2 separate regions of the Homo sapiens genome follow, and region 2 is linked to region 1. Evidence: promoter capture Hi-C in human tissues and cell types (Jung and others, 2019). All regions are on one chromosome and are shown on one strand. The core of a region is centred on a gene start or on the middle of the fragment in contact, and the rest is flanking DNA. Distances in the headings are between cores, read along the strand shown.

Region 1 (7,452 bases), core at 2,612-5,111:
CCGCCTACTCAAAATACAACTGCTATATGTGTTTAATGTTGGAAAAAGCATTTACTAGATTTTGGAAGAACTTGAGGGGTGTGTGTTGTGTGTAAATAAAAAGGTGCACTTATTGCCGCCTTATCATAACCACTCACTTGAAGGCATATATTTTTTTTTTCACTGTAGGGAAAATAAAGAAGTCCACTTTAAGTGGACAAACATGAACCATGTGTGACTATTTATTTCATTCATTCGACATTTACTTGAGTGTTCTATACTGGTTCTTATAAAATTTTTACCTATTTAAGCTTAGTTGTTATGTCCAATAAGTATATTCAGCTGATGGCTCCTCAGAAATGATTTTCGGTATCTGCTTAACATTTACATATGTGGATTATATGCGTTATTGAAAATGTAGCACATCTCTAAAAGGTGATAGCTGCAAAACCTAACATATGGGGAAGGTTGTCACCCACAAACACTGTACATCAGAAACATAAAGTAGAATGCTTCTTTACATCAAGTTGAAAAATGACTCATAACCAAAAGTAAGATTTTAAATTTGATGTTCGTTCTTTTCTGCTTTAAACTGGTTTGCAAAGTGCCTCATTCAAGAACGTCCCAAAACCAAAATAATAACAGGGAGTAAGGGTTACTCAAGATTCAAATAAAAGTTACCATACAAACAAGCATGGGTAAACCAAATTCAAATAGCTAGTGCAATTATTTTTTAATAGATAGTTTAGGTTAATAGGTGGAGACATAGTTCTGCCACTGTATTTAAGGTTAGGTTAATAATTAACTTTGGTGCCTGGAGTAGTTTAATCAAAGCTTACTGTAAATCATAAAACTGCTCCATGTAGACTAAACACAGCATTAAAAAGTCATACAAAATTCTTGCAATCTTGACCGCTGGTAGCCATTTGGGTACGGTATAAAAAAGTGTAGAGTATTTTTAGTCAGAATTAAACATAGGCATCTTTACTTTGGGGAGAAAACATAATTAAATAATTAATTAAACCACCAGTCCTCCCCGCCATCACTGTAGCATACCACAGACTTGATGCCCAAGATGTGTCCACCAGGGGAAGGACGACGAACAATTTCAGGACTAAAGAAAGACAAGGCAAAGGCACTCGACCTTCCCATCCTGGCAAGACTTAAAAACCAGCGCTGGGGGGCATTAAATAGCTTTTCTGAGACCTGCTGGCACAACACTGCAAGTGGGTTAAACGGCTTTTCAGATCTGAGGTAAAGAAAGTTGTGCGTACAAGGGCGAGTGTGTGCGTGTGTGTGTCCATGCACGCCTGTGTTTTAAACCTTTCACAGATCGCATTCAGTAGCGTAAAAAAGCTGAGCGTAAAAAAAGGAGCGATCCCACTGTGGCTGTGCCTGGCCACCGCAGTTCCAAAGCAGCCACCTTTCTCCCAAAGACCGACGCGAAAAAGCCTGCAGGGCTCCCCAGTGCGATACAGGCCGGAGACTCCCTGGAAGTGCTTGCCCCGGCTGTGAAGACAGCGCCTCCAGTCTCCCATTCCTCTCCCGCTCCACGCACACCTGGCTCTGCTTCCTCCCTCCCTGGATAGCCACGCTGGGAAATCGTGCGCAGGGAGCAGATGGCTCGGGATTCTGCACCTGAAGCTGCCTACTTGCAAGCCACTGAGCCCCGGCCTGTGTCCACACGCACCTTCCCCACAGCCTCTGTCCACAGTGGCCGCACCTGCCTCCGGGGTCCTGCTTCCCCATTCATCCCTTCCCCGACTTGTCGAGCAAGTACCGCGGGCCAGGAGGTTCCACTCTCCAAAGGGCCGGGATCTAGCTCCTAGCTGCATCCCGAGCTGTCCGCATGATTCCCTCCAGGTCCGGCTTCCCTCAGACTGCACATGCTGAGCCCCAGTCCGGTCGTGCCTGCCGCCCCTGGCTTTCAGGGAAACTTTCCAGGAGCGCCTGGTCTAGTGACCCCGCCGCTGTAAAGTGGGAGGAGGCGCTGGGCGGAGGGGCGGCGAGGGAGCGGGAAAAACAGCGGAATTCTGTTTCCTTTCCCGACGTCCACAAGCCCGGGACCGCTCCCTGGCTCCCCCCGTGCCGCTCGGGTCTTGCGAGGAGGGAGGAGACCTCAGGATCCTGTTTTGCACCATCTCCCACAGCGAGGAGCTGAGCAAAACGCGGAGAATCGGGACAAGAGACACTTCCCGCCCCAGAAGGATCAGGCAGGGTGGGTGGGCACTGCCCGGCTTACTCTCCAGCGCCCCATTGCCCCCATGGTAGCGCCCTAGGACACAGTGAGGAGTCGGAACAGAGCCCTAGTCTGGGTTTCAAACCCAGGGCCATCTTCTGCCAGGTCTCTCACCCTTCCCCCTCCTGGGTCATCTTTCCAGAGCGAGACCGCGCTGATCTGGGAGGAGGGCGTACCGTGCGCCAGCCCGGTGCAAAGGGCTCGGTGCTTCAGGAGGGACGCAGCCGCGACGGGCTATATCCTTGCCGCTCGGGTTGGGAGCTGCGGCGGGGGACAGGACCCATGGCGGGGGCGCCGCGTCACCCGAACGGCTGCTCCCGGACACTTATTCGAGCAAACAAAGCCCGGAACCTCTGGTGGCAGCGGCCACAGGAGCCAGGATCTCACCGAGAGACAGGGCGCGCGGGTGCCTAGAGCCATTACAAGTTTCTTGCACTCCACGGAGCCCAGCCCAGACCCCACACTGACAACAAAAGATTCTCTCCGCTTCCACACCGTCTCCGCGGAACCCCTTCTCCCACCTGGCACTGGACGAAAACAGCGCTGTTATACCCAACCCCCTCCAGCCCTCGAGGGCAGAACCCCTTCCCCTGCCTTCGACACACCGGGCCAGGGAGCTTCCGAGAATCCCACCATTTAGGGCCCGCTCTGCTCCCTGCTGGGCACGCGGGAGGATGAGCCTTGGGTCTCGCACACACACCCCCAGGAGGAACAGCCATACGCGCCGTCGCGGCCCGGGGCGGCGCCGGGCGTGTGCGCAACGCGGGTGGGAAAGCTCTCGACGTGGAGCCGGACGCACTCTGGGGCGCAGGGCAGAGAGGAAAGGCAGGCAGGGCTCACGGCTGCTCCCCCAGGACCGGGCAAGGCTCGGGAAACAGAGACACAAGACAAAATAAAACGCAGGCACCACAAAGCCGACAGCACGCGCTAGCCACGGCCCCGGGACCCTCAGGCTGGAGTCCAGCTGCCCGGGAGGTGGGGCGCGCCCGGGCGCCCGGGGCGTACCTTTTCGGTGCATCGACGGACAGGCGGCCGGGGCTCGGAGCGAACTGGTACAGCGTGTATCCCATTTAGTAATCCATTATCGAGGGGATCTCTCCGGGCCGCGGGCTGCGCTCTCTCCTTCGCAAGCCTTTGTCATTCCTACATGTGTGCTTGTCTCTTTGGGGGAAATAGTCGCGGCGACTACTTTCTGGGATGCAAACGCGATGTGTTCATCTCCAATGACGAGCGGAGAAGGGGAGAGGAAAAAAGAAGCCAAAAAAAAAAAGAAGAAAAAGAAAAAGAAAACCAACAAGGAAGAGGGTAAATGTTCAAGAAACTCTTCTCCAAATCCAAATTCCACTTGGATTCCACTTCGGTGAGTCCCCTTGGTGGTGTCTGCGCCGATTAACAAGTCATTTCAGGGCGGGGGGCGGGGTGGGGGCTGGGGCAGGGGTGCAAGGCTCTGGCCCGGCTCTGCGGCCGGCAGCGCGGTGCCGCGGGTGTGGTGATGCTGGCCGCTGCTACACGCTGCTAAGCGGGCATCGCGGGCGACCGGCACCGCGGAGGAGCGCCGCTGCTGGGTTCCGAGCGCCTGGGCAGCCGAGTGCGCGGGGAGCGGAGTTGGCTGCAGCCTCACCCCGTGCCGCTCACTACTCCTCTGTCACCGGAGAGGCCGCCGCTCCCGGGCGGAGCCAAGTCCCGGACTGGATTGCGCAGATCGGACTCTCCTTCCGCAACTCCGCCTACTTTGGCTGGCGTCTCCTCCGACCCAAAGGAGAGCTGTGGTGTATGTGAGTGCGAGTGAGCGAGGCAGAGGCGGAGAAACTACGCGGTGTGGCTGCAGGTGGAGCCTTGGACCAACTGGCCAGCGCCGCTTCCTTCCACCAGGATTCCTGGCCCCACCGCGCGCTAGGCGGAGGCTCAGCGGGGGCGACTCTGGCTGGAGCCCAGCCCTCACCTCCCCCACCCCCACATCTGCTCTAGCTAGGAAAAAAAAAAAGAAAAAAAAAATCCCGGACAGCATTGCTGAGTCCTGCCAAATCAGAAAAATAAATAAAAATAGACGTAGTGCAGGAGCGAGTTACAAGAAAGGTTTTGTTCATCGATTTTCTTAAATGGAAAAGTTTTAAAGGATGAGGGTAAGTGAACGGCGAGCTTTTCTGATTCTGATTACTGTTATCAAGAGGTAGATTCCAGAAGCGATGGACGCTCTACGTAGTTAGATGAATTGGATAGAAGCCGGTGCGGTTAAAAATACACTTGGAAGATAAGAACACAGCTATTAATTACGCACATACACACGTTAATAAAGCATGTGAAGTAAGCAAATAAACTACAGTGCAGAGAATGGCGTTTTTAACGACGGCGATCTATTTTAAAACTTAATGAAGTTCACATTTTGTGGACTGGTCTTAGAAATAAGTAAACTTCAGAAATAACACGCATACAATTCCAGTGAGAACCCAAAAGGTTTATGGAAGAAGAAAATCGCAACCACTTCCAAGGCGCTATTGTTATGATCACATGAAGAATGGCAGGCACAGCCTTCTTTCACCACTTGAACTTTCAATAGCTACAAAGTCTTGCAGTTACAGGCTTGTGCCAACTCGTCGGGCCACACCACGTTCCCCTCCCCCTGCCGCTGCGCCCCGAAATCAACTGCGCGCCGCGGCTCTTGCTCCCCAAGGGGGCTTCGCAGATGGTACGGATCCTAGTCGCAACCTTTAAACAAAGTAACATCGGGCGGCCCAGCAGTTCTCGGAGAGATATTTACTAGTCATGGAGTTGGCTGAGAAAAGCAAGTGCGGAGATCGGGGTCTCAGTCCCACTTAGGCCGAGTTTCTTTATATTGGAAACTGTACCTGTTCCCTAATTGGGACTAAGACCACTAATAAGTCCACGTTCCCTCTTTGGTCGCTTCTCTAAGTACAGACATCTGCTTAAGAGGCTTCACGAAGAATAAATGCACATGGGTCAACACCCATTCCCCCCGCACCACTACCACCACCTGGAAAAGGTAGGGAGAATGGTAGGAAAAAAAGAAAAAATCAGTACCCCTGCTGTTCTCCAGAGCTGTCAGCAGGGGCCGCTATCCCCACCTTTCTCGGGCAAAGGCCTCTATAGACCTGGGGTAGTGGGGGGCGCGGCCCTAGGTGCGCGCGCAGCCCCCGCGGCTTCAAGAGCCAGCCTCGGGAGGGGGTTGGGGAGTGTGGGGCGGTGGGTAGGATTGCGCTTTCCCGCGGGTTGGGTGGGGGCCGGCTCCAGGACGTCTCCTCAGAATCCCGCGGGGTTAGGAGAAGGATCTGGCGGCCAAGACGGCTGGATCCCCGGCTGCGCTATTTAACACCCAGATTTTGGCTGATGACTGCAGGGTCAGTGTGAGCTGGTCCCCTGGCTCGTCCGTGCGCCCCAGGCGCGGTACTGCAGCCCCTTCGAAGCTCCGGACCCTTCGGCCTCCGGGGTTTTTTGTCCCGCGCTCCACCCAACCGGGGTCGCCGAGGCTCCTTCTTCGCTCCCCGCCGCCGATTTACATGCTAATTGTGTCTGGGAAAAGTTCTTAAATTGGCAGAATTAGGCAGAGCAAACGAATTGTTTCACAGGCCGAACTAAATTAATTTCGGGTTTAGCTCCTTCCCTTAGAGAAACAAACAATTAAGTTGTTTTATTTGCTTTATGGATATATTGGAAATGCCCCACAACGAGTTTCAGGATATTGTTTAAAGGGACATTATATTCAATATTAATACTTGCATGTTTAATTTGTAGTAACGCTGAGCCAAGAAGCGAGCGATTAAATTTACCTAATTTAAAATTATAGAATACGAGAGTTAAAGAATTGGAGTCTACTTTTCACAGTGAAGAAATACCACCCAGAATCTTCCTGGCAATTACTAGATCCTAGTCTCACCATCCAAGTAGGAGCCCTTCCTTCTGACCACGTGATATTACATTTCCACCTGCCAGAAAAGATGCTCCCGGAGCTGGAAGAAAAGCCAGCTATTGTCAGGCTCCCGAAACCCCCAGGGGAGCACCTGTGGGGAAGCCAGGCTATGAAACCTCATGATGTCATTTCCCCATAAGTGCGCCTCAGACTCACTTCCAGAAGCCTGCAGTAAGTTTTCAGTAAAACCACTGCCCCTTCAAAGCCTTTGAAGTCTGCAATTTATACCCTGTCCCTTCAGGAAAAGAAAGCCAAAGAGTTAAAGAATCACAGAGTGATGAGAAGGTGACTTCAGTGGTTTTTTTTAAAGTGACGTAAAATGGAGTGTTTGAGGCCCTGGTCTCTGGAGGCCATCTGCGGTTAATGTAACTTAGCTGGTGATCTTGGGCAAGTCACTTATCTCTGTGAAGTCCCAGTGGATTCACCTGTAAATGGGGATTCTTATTCTACTCACTTCCCGAGGAGCTCGTGGATTACATTAGATGATCTTCGTAAATTCGGAGTCTAAGGCTGACACTGCTTTATAAAGATTAAGTGTCACATTGTCATCCTTGCCATCCTCCACATCAGTCCTACCATCACATTTTACAGGAGTCACATGGAAGCACAGCGGACAGAAGTGGCTTGACCTGTGTCAGCGATTGGGTCAGGGCTGGGAGCTACCTGTAACAACTCCCCCTCCCCTTCTTCTTCTTTTTTTTTTTTTCAATTTTTGAGACGGAGTCTTGCTCTGTTGCCCAGGCTGGAGTGCAGTGGCGCAATCTCAGCTCACTGCAAGCTCCGCTTCCCGGGTTCACGCCATTCTCTCTCCTCAGCCTCCCGAGTAGCTGGGACCACAGGTGCCTGCCACCACGCCTGGCTAATTTTTTTGTATTTTTAGTAGAGATGGGGTTTCACCGTGTTAGCCAGGATGGTCTCGATGTCCTGACCTCGTGATCCGCCCGCCTCAGCCTCCCAAAGTGCTGGGATTACAGGCGTGAGCCACCGCGCCCAGCCACCCCCTGCCCTTGTTAACTACATGACAGTTCCCGCTTTCCTCAGATCACCTGGAAAAGTGTGGCGGAAGATTAAAATAAAGCAGAAAGATAAACTCAGGTTCTCTGCAAAGACCACATCTAGCTGTTTGATCAGAATCTCTGCTTTGAGACAAAAAGGAGTAATGAACTTGGGAGAAGAAGGGGCTGCTGCTACTCACAGTTCCTTGAGGGTTCATGGGGGCACACTTGGGGAGCACAGTTTGTACATTCAGGCCATTATAATTTATAATCAAGAAATCTATCTGTACCCTCAGCCCCTTCTCCAAAGTTCC
Region 2 (7,204 bases), core at 1,011-3,510, 480 kb after region 1:
TCTCCTTTGGTTCAGAAAATACAATGAGTGCTAAAAATCTCCATTAATTTATTAAGTGTATGAGCATGATATTGAATACTACTTTATGTAAATTTATCTAAATTTCAACAGTGACTTCTACCAAGAGCTACATATCATGTGGTGAGAGAAAATAGTTCCTTTTTGGCTCACAAAGTGCCTTTTGTCTCATTCTTTCTCCCTTAGTTGACCTCTTTCTTCTGCAAAACTATTCCCCCATCTTGCATTTTGCTCTGTATGACTTATTGTTTTAATAGCCAATGTCATATTTTATGGAACAAGGAGACAAGGAGACTGAAGATTTGTTTAAATATATCATGATGCAAAGCTCCCCTACCATGGCCAAGTGGAGGACCAGTGTTTACTTTAGTATCTGAGGCCATGATTTAAAGCCTGTTTACATGGCTAATTATTAAAGCGTGATAAACACACTTTTTAAAAGACACGGGGAAAAGTGTATTTTTAAGTCTACCTTCTGTTTCTATTGGGCTACATTTCCAACAGATGGCAGGAGCATCTGGGAAGCAAGCCAGTTAGACTCGCTGATGGACCCTGTACTTACTTAGCAATTGCTCCTGGTCATTTCCTTGAGTCAAGAGTGCGGATGAGAGAGGCATTAGCACTGAGCTTAAACATAAAACCTGAATGGTCTACCAGACTTAAACCGGAAATAAAAGGATCATAAATTTGATAGAACTGGGAAGAATGTTGACTTCCTTGTATTTTAGAAATGATATATGTTGGAAAGAATTAATATGTGTGTGTGTATGTTTAATTATCAAAGGTTATCTCTTTAGTTTAAAGGACCGTAGCCAGCAGTAATTAAGTGTGCCATTCACTGCTGGCAACTACTTAGTTTACGTGCTGTTTTTTATTCCCATTTAGCTGTTTTCTGCTTAAAATACTCTAGAATTAATAAGGACATATATGTGACAGGGAAAACATCAACGTCTTACAATTAGTATCTCATAAAACTATGAATGGCAATATCTGAGAATGCAGTTACAAAGCGTGCAAAATTTATTCATGAATAGATCTGCAAGGAAACTTGGGTAAATACTGCAAAACAGTCACAAGACACTGAATAACTTTGCAATTCTGATGACATTTGTTGGAGACCATGTGTGACATAATGAAGGAATGTTAACATTTTGTAAAATGAGATGGAAGCAGCAGGATAAAAGGAGGAAAATATATTTTCTTTAAAAAGTAAAACAAATTTGACTTTAAAAAGGCAGTGATGAGATGACAATTCTGAAGTATAATAGAAAGAGTATTATTCTCAGCCTCAAATACCCCCACAAGAATTTCCTAATACACAATTGAAATTGTAAGTAAAATCGAGTAACAGAATTGTTGGGAATATCCAGACCATTTCACTTAAAAGCAAGGTTCAGTAAAAAGAAGAAGCTTTCAGGGGCTATTCTCCTCTCTGCTCTTTCACTGCTAGTCAGCATTTGTCTGCACCTGTTATGGGGCCCAGCCATTCTCCCCTCCAGTTCTGCCGTTGGGCTGAGGAATGATTTCACTAGGCTTTGAACAACTGAAAAACATTTTATCTTTTCATTTTGTGCCTCCACTTCCTGGTGTATAAGGTCTTCATTAGTGCTGAATGCTCCACGACTGAAGGAATCCATAGGGAGCCTCTGGCTCAACAAACTGCTGGCTTGATATCAAGCCCTATCCTCTCTTTATGTTCTACTTGTGCCCTCTGCCCATCTCAGGACCCTTGTTCAGATTCTGACCCCCCATTAGCTTGGTTGTCTGAAACGTGGCTTTCTGATGCTTCTTAGCCCAAGAGGGAAGTAGAGGGGGGAAGGAAGAATCTCTTGTGGGGAGGTTCTATTAAGAAGAAGGAAAATTGCATGGTAGCGGATTAATCACTTTATTTCCCTTCTTCATTCTATAAAGACATCTTAGGGTGGAGTGAAAATGCACACTCCCCTAATATGAATATTTTGCGGTCCTTTTGCAAAAACAATCAGCTAGGTCTTTGTCATTCTGAAAAGGCAATCCAGTGAGTTGTGATGCGTGTGAAAACAGGATAGGAGAGTAAATCCTTGGTGTTATTTGTGAGGAATATGGCAACTGGCCCCTTTTTTATCTTCCAAATCAATCTTTTCACTACTAGCAGGCCTGTAATTTTGTAGTTGGCATTTTTTTTCCCCACTGAATAGAAAAAACCATGCAAATACACTCATGCATTGATTAACAACATTTTGGTCAAAGACAGACTACATATGGGATAGTGGTCCCATAAGATTATAACGGAGCTGAAAAATTCTTATTGCCTAATGTTGTAGCCATCACTACATTGAAGCACAATGCATTACTCCAGTGTTTGTGATGATGCTGGTGTAAATAAATGTATTGAACTGTCAGTCCTATAAAAGTATAGGACAGGCAATTGGGTACAGTATATAATATTTGATAATGATAATAAATGACTATGTTGCTGATTTATGTATTTACTATGCTATACTTAATTGCTATCTTAGACTATCTCCTTCTATTTATATATTTTTAAAAGTTAACAGCCTCAGGCAGGTCCTTCAGGAGGCATTCCAGAAGAAGGCTCTGTTATCATAGGAGATGACAGCGTCATGTCATGTTATTGCCCCTGAAAATCTTCCAGTGGGACAAATTCTGGAGGAAGAATGATATTCTGACCTTGACCCTGTGTAGACCTAGGCTAATTTGTATGCTTGTGTCTTAGTTTTTAACAAGAAAGATTAAAAATTACAAATAAAATAAATTAAAACACAGAAAAATAATTATAGACTATGGATATAAAGGAAGAAAATATTTATAGCTGTACAAGGTGTATTTTAAGCTAAGTGTTATTACAAAAGAGTCAAATGTTAAAAAAATCAAAGTTTAGAAAGTAGTTACAATAAGCTAAGGCAACTTTATTATTGAAGAAAATTTAAAAAAAATAAATTTAGTGTAGCATAAGTGTACAGTGTTTATAATAGGTACAGTAATACTAGTACTATAATACTATAATAGTGTACAGTAATGTCCTAGACCAGCACATTCACTCACTACTCACTCACCAATTTACCCAGAGCAACTTCTAGTCCTGCAAGCTACATTCATCATAAGTGCCCTATATAGGTATACCATTTTTTATTTTTATACTGTATTTTTACTGTACCTTTTCAATATTTAAATGCACAATATTTACCTTTTGTGTTACAATTGCCCACAGGATTCAGTGTAGTAACATGCAGTACAGATTTGTAGCTGAGGAGCAATAGGCTGTACCATATATCCTAGGTGTGTAGTAGCCCATACCATCTAGGTTTATGTGAGTACACTCTATGATGTTCACAGGATGAAGAACTCACCTAAGCACATGTTTCTCAGAATGTATTGGCACCATTAAGCATGACTACATTTCTGGGAGATGTAATAATTTACCCTTTGTGCAATACATTAGTATTAGAGGGCTACAACATTAGAATATCTAATCATAAATTTATGCCACTATAGATGAATTTACCAGATCCTTAATCAAAAAAGGATAAGAAAAGAAGGTCTTTGGGTTAAGGGGAGACAAATTCCTACAGAGGAAAAAGGCAAGGGTGCTTAATAGTCGTTGCTATTTATCCATGAGAATGCTTGCACTGCCTAATAATGTCCTTGCCAGCTCCACCAAGGATCCCCCATGGCAAAAAGTGACTGTAGATGTGGGTGTTGAGTGTGTAAAGCCTCTTGAATACTCTGGGCTTGTCTCCAGTGTCTGGAAAGTTGTTTATGAAATGGTAGAGACAAGAACATTATTATTTAATTCTGGATATGTGAACCTAGTACATGCCTTATATTTCATAGGCATTCTGGAAAATCCCCACACTATTCAAAAAGGTGAAAACTATTTCAAATCAATTTATTTTAACAAATAACTTCATTTTCAGATTTGATGAGCCATCTCTGAAGTTAAAGAAATAAATATCCTACATATTTGATACCTTTGAGGAATGAAGTTCATGCTTACCCTTCCATTTTTTTTCTCAGTGGTTCAGTTTACAATATTTTATTTCTGAGTAAAATCCTGGAGTTACTTCCCATATACCTAGTCTCACCTACAAGGAATTACATGTGCCATTCATGACTGCTTGCCTTAGTTGGGGTCTTTGTGCTTTTTTTATGCAATGGTTAAGTTCTAGGTTCACTGCAGTTACTTCCACAGGAGAGGTGATTCATACTTTACTGAAATGCCTGGAACTGATGGCACTGGTAGGGCCTGTAGATCAGACTGTGAAATGCTTATCTGCACTGAGAGCCCTGACTGTTTCCATTACTGTTCTGGTCTCCTATGCTTGGTTAAGTTAGAAATTTCAATATTGTTTCCTGTTGCCTTCTTTCATTTTCATTTATATTACTCTTATTAGCCAATCTATTTGGAAACTAGAATATGTTTTTTGAGGCTTCTCTTTAGAATGTGCCAGAATTCTTACACATGATATATTCCAACACATTGAAATCATGAAAACAAATATTCCAGGATAGGAAAGCCATTTTCAAGCCCAAGACCAGCAACATAGGGAAATCAAAAAGCAGTAAACTCAACAGGATAGCAGTGAAGCAAAGGAACTTGGAAGGACCTTTGTTGGCCTGTAGTAATAGGATTTGACTGTTAATGATATTCTTGAGAGGGGAAATTGTCATGCCACTTCTGTGGGGCAGTTGCTTTTAGAAAGCACGTTGTTTTGTTTATTAGAACCACAGAATTTTAAATGTGGAAAGTAATTTTGTTTTATTTAGTCCAACCTTCCTTTAGGAGAGTATTTTGGTTTGGGGTTCCCCTGGAAGCAGAGCCCGAGGCAAAGGCTTCTGTAAAACTCCTTCACTAGAGGGTACAACCCTATAGACTGGAGTAAGGGACAAAGAGTGAGGAAGGAAAGAGGTCGGAGGAGGTGTTGTCAAGCAGGCTGCTGCTAAATACAACAGTTTGCTATGATCTACAGCACTCTCTTCCAAGAATCCATATAAACTGCGGCTCCTGACAGTGAATTCCAGTGAGAAATGGTCAAGAACACGTTTATTTTCCAGAATAATTTATTCTTTCTCTCTTTATTGCCTGATTTTTTCTTACTTGCAAACATTCTTGCTCGTCCACTTTTATTTCCAAATTGTCTCATATCTATTCAAAGCTATCTTCATCATGGCCTCACCCGCGTTTGGAATTGCATTATCTCTTACCTAGATAATTATAATCATCTACTAACTTACTTCTCCTATCCACTTTCATCCTAACTGAATCCATCTCAAACACCATGCCCAGATTAATCTAATACTTATACTCTACTTATAAGTATCTGTACTTCTTCATTATCTGCTCTGATATAGGTAAGTTCAAATTCCCTAGCCTGACTCTATCAGTTAAGATGCTTTAAGATGCAAATAATTTAAAAACCTACAATTCTAAATGAATTAAGCAACACTGGATCTTATTATGTCACAAATATTAAGACATTTCATAGATAGGCCCCTACCTTTGCTTCTTAGCAGTTCTCTTGGATCCATGTTCTCTTTCTCTTGTTGGCTTCATCCTCAGGTTGATGACAAAACAGCTATAAAAATTTCAAGTATCATATGCAGATCCAACATTGGAAGGAGTGGGAACATTTCTTTCTAATGTTTAATAGCAAGATGACATTTGCCAGTAGGCTCACAGCAGACAACTCTCTCATCTAATTGGCCATGTGCTTCTCCTAAACTAATCCCTAATAATGGGAAGATAATGCTGCCATGACTTACATGGGATGCTGAGAATTCAGCCTTGGGTCTGAGGATTAAATATCACTGGGTTATGCAAGACGGGGCAGACAACCAACTCTACCTATTCCATGCACTCAAGATCTGCCAGTTCTAATAAACTTTCAACTTGATTTCCCATTATTTACTTTTACCTGCATTGTATAATAGCCATGTCCCACTACTTGCTATAGTTCAATCTTTCCTACCTCTTCATCCTGTAAAATATTATTTCCTCATTGCTCCCTCCCTCTGGACTATTTTCAGTGAAACTTCCTTTTTTTTTTTTTTTTTTTTTTTTTTTTTTTTTTTTTGAGACGGAGTCTTGCTCTGTCACCCAGGCTGGAGTGCGGTGGCGCGATCTCGGCTCACTGCAAGCTCCATCTCCCGGGTTCACGTTATTCTCCTGTCTTAGCCTCCTAAGTAGCTGGGACTACAGGGGCCTGCCACCATGCCCAGCTAATTTTTTGTATTTTTAGTAGAGACGGAGTTTCGCTGTGTTAGCCAGGATGGTCTGCATCTCCTGACCTGGTGATCCACCCACCTAGGCCTCCCAAGGTGCTGGGATTACAGGCGTGAGCCGCCGCACCGGCTGGTGCATCTTTGTTAATGAATCTATGTCTTATCAATGAATGAAAAATGATTTTTCTCTTATCTAACAGCACGTTTTTGAACTCACATTATTTATCTGTCATGTCAGATTGTAGTCTTCTTAAAGGGAGACCCTGAAATATATTTTTACATTTATCCTATCCAAACAAGTAAGCACCTGTCCTTATACTTAATGGTTAGCATTTATTTTATGAAAAAGTAAGTTAAACCTCAAAACATGTCAGTTGAACCTGAGGGTTTTCAACTTAAGAATTTTCTTGCTAGTGGAGAAGTTCTTTTTTTCCCAGCTTCCTTGTGTAAGCCCACCACACAAATGGTCTAACTTCTTGAGCAGAATACTGCAGAAGGACCAGATTTTCTACAACTGAAACAAAGGGGTCACATTCACTCACTTAATATAATCCAGGAAAAAAGAAAATTACCAATCTATGGTGATCCATTGGAAATGCTCTGACTTATCAGATCTTGTCTGGATTTAGATCTTATATATTTAAAACATTTTTTCTCTATAGAAAAAAACTAATCATCACTTAAAGGACAAAAGCATGTTAACTTTTCAATGGGTGAATCTTTAAAATGTGAATTTGAGATAGTGAGAAAATGGTTAGAGGTTAAACATTATCATGCGAGAGACTTCCGGAGTAGACATATCTTGGTTAATGGAGTGTTAAAAATTGGCATGAATTTCCAGCAAAGAAAATCATTAATTTAAACTGCAGAGACCATGGGCTCATTCCTAGATTCAATAAAAAAAGATCTGACAACCCTTATGAAGAGAGAATTTAGCAATTCCGCTGTACCCCTAACTCCTTCA

The links. The method cuts DNA at HindIII sites, captures the fragments that hold promoters and counts their contacts. A contact is called where the count stands out against the background at its distance.
Region 2: a fragment that was not itself captured here is called in contact with the fragment with the promoter of SEMA6A in region 1 in 1 of the 25 tissues and cell types used here (heart right ventricle).

Annotation. Positions count from the first base shown.
Region 1 is chr5:116,570,962-116,578,413 of GRCh38, forward strand. It overlaps SEMA6A (semaphorin 6A), which reads right to left and starts at 3,862. Exons shown (of 19, transcript NM_020796.5): 1 at 3,224-3,862. SEMA6A-AS2 (SEMA6A antisense RNA 2) reads left to right here and starts at 3,457. Exons shown (of 3, transcript NR_147170.1): 1 at 3,457-3,578. RefSeq lists enhancers at 1,139-1,920, 6,558-7,193, 7,194-7,452 and a silencer at 3,618-3,697. The HindIII fragment of the contact is 11,240 bases long and covers 552-7,452 here.
Region 2 is chr5:117,054,632-117,061,835 of GRCh38, forward strand. No RefSeq gene overlaps it. Among named protein-coding and RNA genes, the nearest start is that of LINC02214, 300 kb to the left of the region's middle. The HindIII fragment of the contact is 9,804 bases long and covers 1-7,162 here.